Linked DNA regions of Homo sapiens: all the other regions are linked to region 1. Evidence: promoter capture Hi-C in human tissues and cell types (Jung and others, 2019). All regions are on one chromosome and are shown on one strand. Each heading gives the region's core, a stretch centred on a gene start or on the middle of the fragment in contact. The rest is flanking DNA. Distances are from core to core; before and after follow the strand shown.

The links. The method cuts DNA at HindIII sites, captures the fragments that hold promoters and counts their contacts. A contact is called where the count stands out against the background at its distance.
Region 2: a contact is called between a fragment that was not itself captured here and the fragment with the promoter of LSM12 in region 1, in 1 of the 25 tissues and cell types used here (dorsolateral prefrontal cortex).
Region 3: a fragment that was not itself captured here is called in contact with the fragment with the promoter of LSM12 in region 1 in 1 of the 25 tissues and cell types used here (dorsolateral prefrontal cortex).

What each region holds. Positions count from the first base shown.
Region 1 is chr17:44,065,047-44,068,942 of GRCh38, forward strand. It overlaps LSM12 (LSM12 homolog), which reads right to left and starts at 1,625. Exons shown (of 5, transcript NM_001371445.1): 1 at 1,418-1,625. The coding sequence starts at 1,541. RefSeq lists silencers at 1,158-1,297, 1,588-1,707. The HindIII fragment of the contact is 14,418 bases long and covers 1-3,896 here.
Region 2 is chr17:44,692,630-44,696,525 of GRCh38, forward strand. No RefSeq gene overlaps it. Among named protein-coding and RNA genes, the nearest start is that of CCDC43, 4.8 kb to the left of the region's middle. The HindIII fragment of the contact is 6,435 bases long and covers 1-3,896 here.
Region 3 is chr17:44,665,847-44,669,742 of GRCh38, forward strand. It overlaps MEIOC (meiosis specific with coiled-coil domain), which reads left to right. Exons shown (of 8, transcript NM_001145080.3): 5 at 530-2,387; 6 at 3,537-3,671. Among named protein-coding and RNA genes, the nearest start is that of MEIOC, 11 kb to the left of the region's middle. The HindIII fragment of the contact is 5,508 bases long and covers 1-3,896 here.

The sequences.
Region 1 (3,896 bases), core at 375-2,874:
CGCTTGAATCCGGGAGACGGAAGTTGCAGTAAGCCGAAATCACGCCATTGCACTCCAGCCTGGGCAATAAGAGTGAAACTCCGTCTCAAAAAACACAACAAAAAAAAAAGCCGGGCGGTGGCTCAGGCCTGTAATCCCAGCACTTTGGGAGGCTGAAGCCAGCGGATCACGAGGTCAGAAGTTCGAGACCATCCTGGCCAACATGGTGATACCCCATCTCTGTTAAAAAAAAACATATACAAAAATTAGCTGGGCGTGGTGGCGCGTGCCCGTAATCCCAGCTACTCCGGAGGCTGAGGCAGGAGAATCGCTCGAACCAGGGAGTCGGAGGTTGCAGTGAGCCGAGATTGCGCCACCGCACTCCATCCTAGCGACAGAGCGAGACTCCATCTTAAAAAAAAAAAAAAAAAAAAGATGCCATAAAAAATTACTCCTCCAAAAAAAAATTCCAATAAACCCACCTGTGGCTCACATAAAAAGGGAAGCCGTGGCACATTTATCCCAACAAGGAAGTGTTTCATTTCCAAGACTGAGTTTCCTGGAGTAATTCAGAAGTCACTTCCACCCCAAAGAAGCAGGCCACCTTTTCCAATCAGTTTAACATTGCTACTTTCAAAAGGGAGGCTGCTACTACGTAAAAGGACTCCATGTGCTGGACTGATCAAGGCAGCATGAGAACTTCACTCTTTCACCTGTAACTCACACATCCCCAAACCACATAAGCCCCTGGCAAGCCCTCTCTGGAACAGGTTTCCAGTGCAAACATCCCCTAAACAGCAACTTCCAAATGACCGAGAAGCCTAAAAATCAGCACAGCCCCCCCACCACACATACACACGCATCAGCGAAACAAGCCACTATCCCTAGCTCAGATACAAACTCTGCCCTGAACTTACTCTCCCCCAAAACAGGCAAGGACCAATTTGGTCACCATCCCACCGCCCTTCCTTGGACGAAATCCCATCAGTGCACATGCCCTCCTAAATTCCATACCTTTGCCCTACCAGCAGTTCCTTACCCTAAACACCCCTCCCCATAATATTTCACCCGCCCCTCCTTTCCATCCGGGCTCCAATCCATCAGCCCCCTCCCACCACCACCCCCTCTCCTAATTACTGTGTCCCCTCTCATAACGTTCCCCCCAAAAAGCCATCCCCGTGTCAAGCCCTCCTCCACCCACTGATCCTCGGTAAAGCCCCAGCTCCCGCAAAGAGAGAGAGACAGGATCCCCAAAGCTGACCGAAGGGCCCGCGGGAGGGGGAGGGGAGCTCAGGGCCGTGCGCATGCGCCCCGGGCGCCGCGGTAGCCGGTCGCCCCTAGGCCCGGAGAGAGCCCCAGCCGCCGCCGTCGTCCCCCACCCCCCGACCACCGCACCTACACGCCGGCCCGGACTCGGGCTTCACGCAGGGAAGGATACTTAAAGCCAGCATTTTGGATTGGTAGTCAAAGGCTACCACCTCGCCCTGCAGCCGCTGCTCCTGGCACGTCCGGCACGACACCTGGCTCCCAACGCTGAAGTACTCGCCCGGAGGAGCCGCCATCTTGGGAGTGCAGCCGCGGCCGGCGGCGGCGGCGGCAGCAGCGGGCGAAAGCCGGGCCCCCAGTGAGCGCCGCGACGCGACGGCGCGCACGGAGCGTGCTTGCGTCACACGCCGGGGCGTGGCCTGGCGCTGGTTGGGGCGGGATCCTAGGTGGAGTGGGAAAGAAGAGGAAATAAAGGGGAATCTGAAAAGTATTTGTATAGCTGCGTCCGCTCGGTTAAGTGCTTGTAGAGTCCATTTTAGAAGTTAAGGATAAATGACCTACGTGGAATGAAAAGGGGAAAGAGGAGGGAGCTGCAGTCTCCATTATATGCACACCTTCCACACAAGAGTTTAATGAATGAATTTTATAAAATATGTTAACCCCATTTTGCATATGAGGAATCAGAGCCTCAGAGGACTTAACGATACTTGGACAAGATGATTATAAGGCTGGGAGCGGTGGCTCACGCCTGTAATCCCAGCACTTTGGGAGGCCGAGGCGGGTGGATCACCTGAGGTCAGGGGTTCGAGACCAGCCTGGCCAACATGGTGAAACCCCGTCTCTACTAAAAATACAAAAATTAGCCGGGTACGGTGGCGCGTGCCTGTAATCCCAGCTACTAGGGGGACTGAGGCTGGAGGATCTCTTGAACCTGGAAGGCGGAGGTTGCACTGAGCCAAGATTGTGCCACTGCACTCTAGCCTGGGCAACAGAGCGAGACTCTGTCTCAAAACAAACAAACAAACAAAAAAAGATGATTATAACTACTGAGTGATAGTGGAAAGAACATTGGCTGTGGAGTTAGATAAGCTGGAACCAGAATCCGAGGTCAGCCTCTTACTAAATCACCTGACCTTGAGCAAGCAAATTACCTGATCCTGTTTCTTCATAGGCATTTGTATTGTCACTTCTTGAGCATCTAACAGCCCTTTGAGGTAGGAATCAATGTCCTCCTTTTACATAAACTAAGTTTTAGACTAAACTTGTCCACGGTTCCACAACTAGCAAAAACAGTCTGCCTATTTCCAAGGACGGTGCTATTTACTGCTATACTCTGTTACATAATAATACCTACCTCATAGTTAGGAGGTTTAAATGCGGTAACGGGTATAAGTGCATGGCATGTACTAGGTCTTTAATAAATGGTAGTTCCCCCTTAGTCACCCATCACTCTTAGAAGTCAAGACACTTCCCCTTCTCCCTTTTTGCCCTCTCTCCCAGAAAGCCAGGCAAAAGGCAGGAATGAGGAGCAGCGGATAGTGACAAAAAGGGGCTTGGAGGAGGGGTTTTGCGCCCCTGCCCTTGAATGTCCGTCTGATGTACAAAACAGTCGTTTTCTTAATCTTATGCAAAGGACTATGAGCGTGCATTTTCAAGCCCTACTACCACCAATGGCTGTCGCTAACCCACCCACCGCTCACTATAGAAATTTTGGATCCTCGCTTCATGTATAAGAAACAGGTTGACCTTTCTCTAGTCCAGAGGGAAGCAAAGGGCCAGTCTTGGCGCGGCTTAACCTGAACAAAGTTCAAAAGTATTTCCTTGCCCTCCAAGAAACATAAACTTCCTGGTGTTGGAAGTATTGATACACTCATTATAATAGGAATAAAAATTCTGCTCCTTCATAGTGTGCTTTTTCAGAGAACTTTTTTTTTTTTTTTTTTGAGATAGAGCCTCGCTCTGTCACCCAGACTGGAGTGCAGTGGCGCCATCTTGGCTCACTGCAACCCGCACCTCCCAGGTTCAAGCGATTCTCCTGCCTCAGCTTCCGGAGTAGCTGGAATTACAGGCACGAGCCACCATGCCCGGCTAATTTTTGTACTTTTAGTACAGATGGGGTTTCACCATGTTGGCCAGGCTGGTCTCAAACTCCTGGGCTCAAGCAATCTTCCCGCCTCGGCTGGCCTCTCAAAGTGCTGGGATTACGGGCGTGAGCCATGTGGCCGGCCTCAGAGAACTTTCATGCCTCTCATCCTTGTTCTGGCCCCCATAATAAATCATACATAATTGCCATTCCAGTTTTCCACTTTTTATATGGAATCGTGATTATAGGTTTTCATATAAGACTTCTAGGAGCCATTAGGAAAGGCCTTCTTGGAGGAAGTGAAAAATCTCTACTGAGACCTGAAGGATTGGCAAGGAAAAAGAGTGGCCATGTTCCAGGCAGAGGGAACTGCACGGGCCAGGACCCCTAAGAGGAGAGAACTTGGTGATTTCAAGGAATGTATAGGTCAGAAATATTACAAAGCGGAGTGTGGGAGTAGGCTGCTTAAGGTTGAGGGCAAACCTCAAAGACTCGGTAAACAATGTAGGCTTTCTCTTCGGCAATTAAAAACTTCCTGGTATTGTCCGGGCACAGTGGCTCACGCCTG
Region 2 (3,896 bases), core at 854-3,353, 630 kb after region 1:
AGCTTCTCAAAAACTGAATCAAGGTTCTCCAGACCCTAAATTTTAAGAATATCCTCAATGGCTATTTTACTACAAAAGTAACATAGCTCATGCTTTAAAAAATATTATATAAGGCCAAGCACGGTGGCTCACGCCTGTAATCCCAGCACTTTGGAAGGCCAACGCGGGTAGATCAACTGAGGTCGGGAGTTCGAGACCAGCCTGGCCAACTGGTGAAACCCCATCTCTACTAAAAAAATACAAAAAAATGGCCCTGCGCGGTGGCTCACACCTGTAATCCCAGCACTTTGGGAGGCCGAGGCGGGCAGATCACGAGGTCAGGAGATCGAGACCATCCTGGATAATAGGTGAAACCCCGTCTCTACTAAAAATACAAAAAAAAATTAACTGGGTGTGGTTGCGGGCGCCTATAGTCCCAGCTACTAGGGAGGCTGAAGCAGGAGAATGGCGCGAATCCGGGAGGCAGAGCTTGCAGTGAGCCGAGATCTGACCACTGCTCTCCAGCCTGGGCAACAGAGTGAGACTCCATCTCAAAAAAAAACAAAAAAAACAAAAAAATTAGCCAGCTATGGTGGTAGGCGCATGTAATCCCAGTTACTTGGGAGGCTGAGGCAGGAGAATTGCTTGAAACCAGGAGGCGGAGGTTACAGTGAGCTGAGATTACGCCATTGTACTCCAACCTGGGCAACAAGGGCAAAACTCTGTCTCAACAAAAAAAAAGAAAAAATTATATAAATGGATAAGCGACAAATTGAAAGCTTACAAAAAATAAAATACGCAAATTAAGATTGCAGTGAAATACCACGTCCGCTTTTCAGATCAAAAAAGTCTGATAATATGCTGTATTGAACTGTGCTTGGGTAAAAGACATTGGAAAATGTTAGAGCAGAAAGTAAATGGATCTGGTCTTGTTGGAGGACTGTTTGTTTGAAAAGACCCAGCATTTCTGCTTCTGGGAATTTGTTCATAAGTTATTCATTTATTTTTATCTTTACTTGTGGTAAAATACACAATTTGCCATCTTAACTATTTTTAAGTATACGATTTAATAGTGTTAAGTATTAATTATTTTTAAAATTTTTGGTTTAAACTGGGCGTGGTGCCTGTTTAAACTGGGCGTGGTTTAAACTGGGCGTGGTTGGCTGGGCGCGGTGGCTCACGCCTGTAATCCCCGCACTTAGGGAGGCCAAGGTGGGTGGATCACTGAGGTCAGGAGTTCAAGACCAGTCTAGCCAACATGGCAAAACCCTGTCTCTACTAAAAATATAAAAATTAGCCAGGTGTGGTAATGCATGCCTATAGTCCCAGCTACTTGGCCACTTGAGAAGCTGAGGCAGGAGATTCACTCGAATTCGGGACACGGAGGTTGCAGTGAGTTGAGATAATGCCACTGCATTCCAGCCTGGGCAACAGAGTGAGACTCTGTCTCAAAAAAAGAAAAAAATTTTGATTTAATATTTTGTATAATGGCCAGGCACACTGGCTTACACCTGTAATCCCAGTACTTTGGGAGGCTGACAAGGGAGGATTGCTTGAGGCCAGGAGTTCGAGACTAACCTGGTCAACATAATGAGACCCCAGCTCTACAAAAAAAAAAAGTGGTGGTGCATGTCTTTTGTCCTACCTACTCAGGAGGTTGAGGCAAGAGGATCACTTGAGCCCAGGAGCTCAAATTTACATGAGCTATGATGATGCCACTGCATTCTAGCCTGAACAACAGAACAAAACTCTGTCTTTAAAAAATAAAACTGTGCATTTGTGTAGAATCACATTTTTCTAAGGATATTCATTGTAGTGAAGCTTTTTGTAGTAAAAGAATAGTCTACATTTTATGTATATGAGACTGGTTCAAAAACTCTGGTAGCCACACAAAGAAGTATTGCACAGCTGTAAAAAAAAAAAAAAAAATGAACAAAGAGGCCGGGCGCGGTGGCTGGTGCCTGTAGTCCCAGCACTTTGGGAGGCCAAAGCAGGTGGATCACCTGAGGTCAAGAGTTCGAGACCAGCCTGGCCAACTAAAAATACAAAAATTAGCTGGGCATGGTGGTAAGCACCTGTAATCCCAGCTACTCGGGAGGCTGAGGCAGGAGAATCGCTTGAATCCAGGAGGCAGAGGTTGCAGTGAGAGGAGATCATGCCATTGCTCTCCAGCCTGGGCTACAGAGCAAGACTCCGTCTCGAAAAAAAAAAAAAAAAAAGAACAAAGAAGCTCTTTATGCACTGACATGTATCAAAGTTCGAGATACATTGTTTAAAAAGTACAGATCAACAATATGTAATGCTTGCCACCATCACTATTTAAAAAGAAGTTAGGGTAGGGGAATACATGTACATATGTGTCCTTGTATGTGCATAGGCTATCTCTGGAAAGATACACCAGGGATATGTGAGAATGGTTGTCCACTGAGGAGGAGAACTGAAGGAGACTGGTTTTGAACTGTTATATTTATTTACTTTGTATCTTTTTGTAAAAGAAAGCAAATTTGAAGCCCTTTCTCCAACCTCATTTTCTCCCCTCTCTCCCCAGATGTAACCACTATTCCTGAATTTGGTGTTTATTTTCTTCTTGAATGTTTTTAAACATAGTACACATTGCTACATATATAATACATATTACAACATATGGATGTATCCATAATATATCACATTGGTGTGCATGCTGTACTTTTCATTCTGCAATGTGCTTTTTCACTCAAGGTTGTTTAAAATATTTACCCATGTTGGGCCGGGCGCAGTCGCTCATGCCTGTAATCCCAGCACTTTGGGAGGCCTAGGCGGGTGGATCAGCTGAGGTCAAGAGTTTGAGACAAGCCTCACCAACATGGTGAAACCCCATCTCTACTAAAGCTACAAAAATTAACTGGGCGTGGTCACGCACGCCTGTAATCCCAGCTACTTAGGAGGCTGAGGCAGGAGAATAGCTTGAACCTGGGAGGCGGAGGTTGCAGTGAGCCAAGACTGCGCCACTGCACTCCAGCCTAGGTGACAGAGCAAGACCCTGTCTCAAAAAATATATACGTGTATATGGCCGGGCACGGTGGCTCATGCCTGTAATCCCAGCACTTTGGGAGGCCAAGGCGGGCGGATCACCTGAGGTCAGGGGTTCGGGACAAGCCTGACCAACATGGAGAAACCCCATCTCTACTAAAAATGCAAAATTAGCCAGGTTTGGTGGCACATGCCTGTAATCCCAGCTACTTGGGAGGCTGAGACAGGAGAATCGCTTGAACCCGGGAGGCGGAGGTTGCGGTTAGCCGAGATCGCGCCATTGCACTCCAGCCTGGGCAACAAAAGCGAAACCCCATCTCAAAAAAAAAAAGAAAAAAATATATATAATATATATGTATCTATATATATTTTATATATATCTTTACCCATGTTGATATATGTAGCTCTTATCCATCCATTTAAATCACTGCATAGTATTCCGTTGCTTTAATATGCTCCAGCTGATCCATTCCTCTGCCGATGGATGGTGAGGTTAGTTCCTAGTTTTCCAGTCAGTGCACCAGTTCACATTCTTAGGTGGTCCCCTTGCCCACCATGGGAAAGTTCCTCTAGATCAGTGAGCATCAGACATTTTTGCCACATACTCTTAGCAGTAAAAATATTCTCAGCATGTACACCTAATGCACTAATATGTAGTTATTTATGAATTATTTGTGTGAACTGCTATATCAAATTAGTATGTCCATCATAAAACATACAAAAAGAGAACTACAAAAAGGAGAAAATCGTTAAAAAATGAAGTAGGCCGGGCGTGATGGCTCACACCTGTAATCCCAACACTTTGAGAGGCCGAGGTGGGTGGATCACTTGAGGTCAGGGGTTCAAGACCAGCCTGGCCAACATGGTGAAACCGGGTCTGTACTAAAAATACAAAAATTAGCCGAGCA
Region 3 (3,896 bases), core at 786-3,285, 600 kb after region 1:
TATTCATGTGTTAGAAAATTTTGTAATGTTTCAATTGTTTTATTGAAGTGTGGAAGCTATATTACCCAAATATACTATTTCATAAATAGGGAAGTATGTAGCACACATATAACCAATTAAAATATTTTAATTTCACAAAGTTTAAGCAAAACACATTTTTTTCATTAAAAAAAACTGTGGTCAACAATGCTTTTATGTAATAACCTAAGCAAAGGAAAAACTTATTTTCTGCTTACTATAGATAAATAATTCATCTAAGACCATGAAGTCACATATTAGGCCTTAGTTATTGTCTCTTGGGAAAGTACAGCGAAGACATTAAAATGCATATTTATGTAACATACAGCACATTTCATGTGACAGATAATTATCTGGAGCTAATGGTAGCTTATAAAGCAGAGTTGAAAGGGATTAGAGAATGGTGACATGGGGCAAGATAAATGTTTTTGAAGACCTTTTCTCCCTTTTCCACTGAAGAAATAAAGTCTTTAAAACCTAAGTTGTAATTAAATATATTTATTTGTTCTAGGACCTGCTCCTCCAATTTAAAGTCAGTTTGGCCAATGAACACAAGCAGATTTGCAGATCACCATGACCTCTTAACAGAAACCAAAAGGCCAATAGATACAGTCATCTCTCAGCAAGCTTTTTATAGTGATGAATCTGTGTCAGCAATGGAAAAGCAATACCTGCGTAACAGTAATCTCACACCACAACAAAAAATAGATGAACTTCATCATGGATTTACTGGTTTAGATCTTGAAGAACAATGGATGTACCCCTCACGAAGTGATCATTCTAACTGTCACAATATTCAGACAAATGATACAGCTAAGACAACATTCCAAGAATATCCACTTATCAAAAACTGTTTTACACCCCAAACTGGTCTGTCTGATATCATGAAAGAATCAGGAGTTGATATCTACCATTATGGAAGAGACAGAATATGTACTAAAGGTCTTGAAGCACCACTACAGCAAAAAAGGGCAGAGATGTTTCTTTCTCAATTTAATAGATACAATGAAAATGTAGATTATTGTAGATACCCAGAGTATGTTCATCCTAATAAGGCTAAGCTTAATAAATGTTCAAATTTTAGTGTCCAAGATAGCAAAAAATTAGCCAATGGCACACCTGAAACACCAACTGTAGAAGCAGACACCTACACAAAGTTATTTCAGGTTAAGCCAGCGAATCAGAAAAAAATGGAGGAGACAATCCCTGATCAGCAGAATTTCACATTTCCAAAAACTACGCCACATCTGACAGAGAAACAGTTTGCAAAGGAAGCAGTATTCACTGCTGATTTTGGCTTAACATCAGAATATGGACTAAAACCTCACACAGCTTGTCCCGCTAATGATTTTGCTAACGTCACAGAAAAGCAACAGTTTGCTAAACCTGATCCCCCACATTCTGAGTATTTTAAATCAGTGAATTTATTATCAAACTCAGCAACATCTTCAGGAGGTATCAATTTAAACAGACCAACTTGGATGAATGTTCAAACAAAAAATAACACTCCTATTCCTTATCGAAATCAAGGTAACTTGATGAAATTAAATAGTCATTTAAGTGCAGCTTCAAAAGGTTCTAACCATTCTTCAGATTTCCCCCAACTATCATCCACAAACTTAACCCCAAATAGCAATTTATTTCAGAAATATTGCCAAGAAAACCCTTCAGCATTTTCTAGTTTTGATTTTAGTTACAGTGGTGCAGAAAGAATCCAATCTGTCAATCACATAGAAGGACTAACAAAGCCTGGAGAAGAAAATCTCTTCAAATTGGTTACGGATAAAAAAATAAAGCAGCCAAATGGATTTTGTGATAACTATTCAGCTCAGAAGTATGGGATAATTGAAAATGTAAACAAACATAATTTTCAAGCCAAGCCCCAGAGTGGACATTATGATCCTGAGGAAGGTCCAAAGCATTTAGATGGCTTATCACAAAATACATACCAAGATCTACTGGAGTCACAGGGTCATTCTAATAGCCACAGAACGAGAGGTGGAGACAATAGCCGTGTGAATCGCACACAAGTGTCATGCTTTTCTAATAATTATATGATGGGAGATTTAAGGCATAATCAGTGTTTTCAACAACTTGGTTCAAATGGGTTTCCCCTAAGATCCACCCACCCATTTGGCCATTCAGTTGTTCCACTGTTGGATTCCTATGACTTACTTTCTTATGATGACTTAAGCCATTTGTACCCTTATTTTAATATGATGTATGGTGATAATTCTTTTTCTGGTCTCATGCCAACTTTTGGATTTCAAAGACCAATTAAAACCCGTAGTGGACCAGCCAGTGAACTTCATATTCGTCTAGAAGAGTGCTGTGAACAATGGAGAGCATTAGAAAAAGAGAGAAAAAAGGTAACACAAAGTTAACCACTTAGGAATAACAGTATGTTCCTTTTGCCTGTCTTCATTCTGTTTACCTTAGTGTAGTGTAAGAGTACTTGCCTTATTTCTTTTTGCTTTATTTGTTGTTGTTTTAAAGAGACAGAGTCTCGCTCTGTTGCCCAGGCTGGAGTACAGTGGCAGAATCATAGTTTACTGTAACCAAACTCCTGGGCTCAAGCAATCCTTCCTCCTCCTGAGTAGCTAGTACTACAGGCACATGCCACCATGCCTGGCTAATTTTAATTTTTTGTAGACATTAGGTTTCACTATGTTCCCCACGGTGGTCTCAAACCCCTGGCCTCAAGCCATCCTCCCACCTTGATGTCCCAAGTGTTGGCATTACAGATGTGAGCCACTGCACCCGGCTAACTTGCCTTATTTCTGAGCTGAATTCTATAATGTCCAGGATTTGCTGTAAGTTCATTACTGTAAGGAATTAAGTGGGTTACTTAAAAACTAAAAATGGATGGGGTTGGCCAATGGGAAGCTTAAATAAATGAAGATGAAAAATGCTTGACATTTTAAAGTTATTGTTATTCTAAGTTGACTTGCCCTGAAGTAGATTTTTTACCCCCTTAGTTGTTACAAGTTTATTTCTTTGAATTTTGTAGTGTTAACCTGTTGGTATACTCAGGTATTTTATTTGTATTAAGACGATAGCTGGGCGCGGTGGCTCACGCCTGTAATCCCAGCACTTTGGGAGGCCAAGGTGGGCAGATCACAAGGTCAGGAGTTGGAGACCAGCCTGGCCAACATGGTGAAACCCAGTCTCTACTAAAAATACAAAAAATTAGCCAGGCGTGGTGGCAGGCACCTGTAATCCCAGCTACGCGGGAGGCTGAGGCAGGAGAATCGCTTGAACCCGGGAAACGGAGGTTACAGTGAGCCGAGACTGCACCACTGCACTCCAGCCTGGGCAATAGAGTGAGACTCCATCTGAAAAAAAAAAGATAGAAAAATACTGTGGTATTGTGGTTTACATTTGTTGTCTTTTGATACCAAAACAGAATTTTCATTTAAAGTGGTAATACTCTATTTATTAGGCTTACGAAAACTATTATTCATGGTCGAATCATATTTAGAAAATTCTACATCTAAAAAGTATGTAATTTTTTACAGACTGAATTAGCCCTTGCCAAGAATTATCCTGGAAAAAAAGTATCCAGTACTAACAACACTCCAGTTCCAAGGCTGACTTCCAACCCATCTAGAGTTGATCGCTTAATTGTGGATGAACTTCGAGAACTAGCCAGAGTAAGCTGTAAAAATAGATAACAGTGGATGGATTTTTTGTTAAATTTTTTTTAAGTTTCAGGCCAGGCGTGGTGGCTCACTCCTGTAATCCCACCACTTTGGGAGGCCGAGGCGGGCAGATCACCTGAAGTCAGGAGTTCGAGACCAGCCTGGCCATTATGGTGAAACCCCGTCTCTACTAAAAATACAAAAATTAGCTGGGGGTGGTGGCATGCGCCTGTAGTC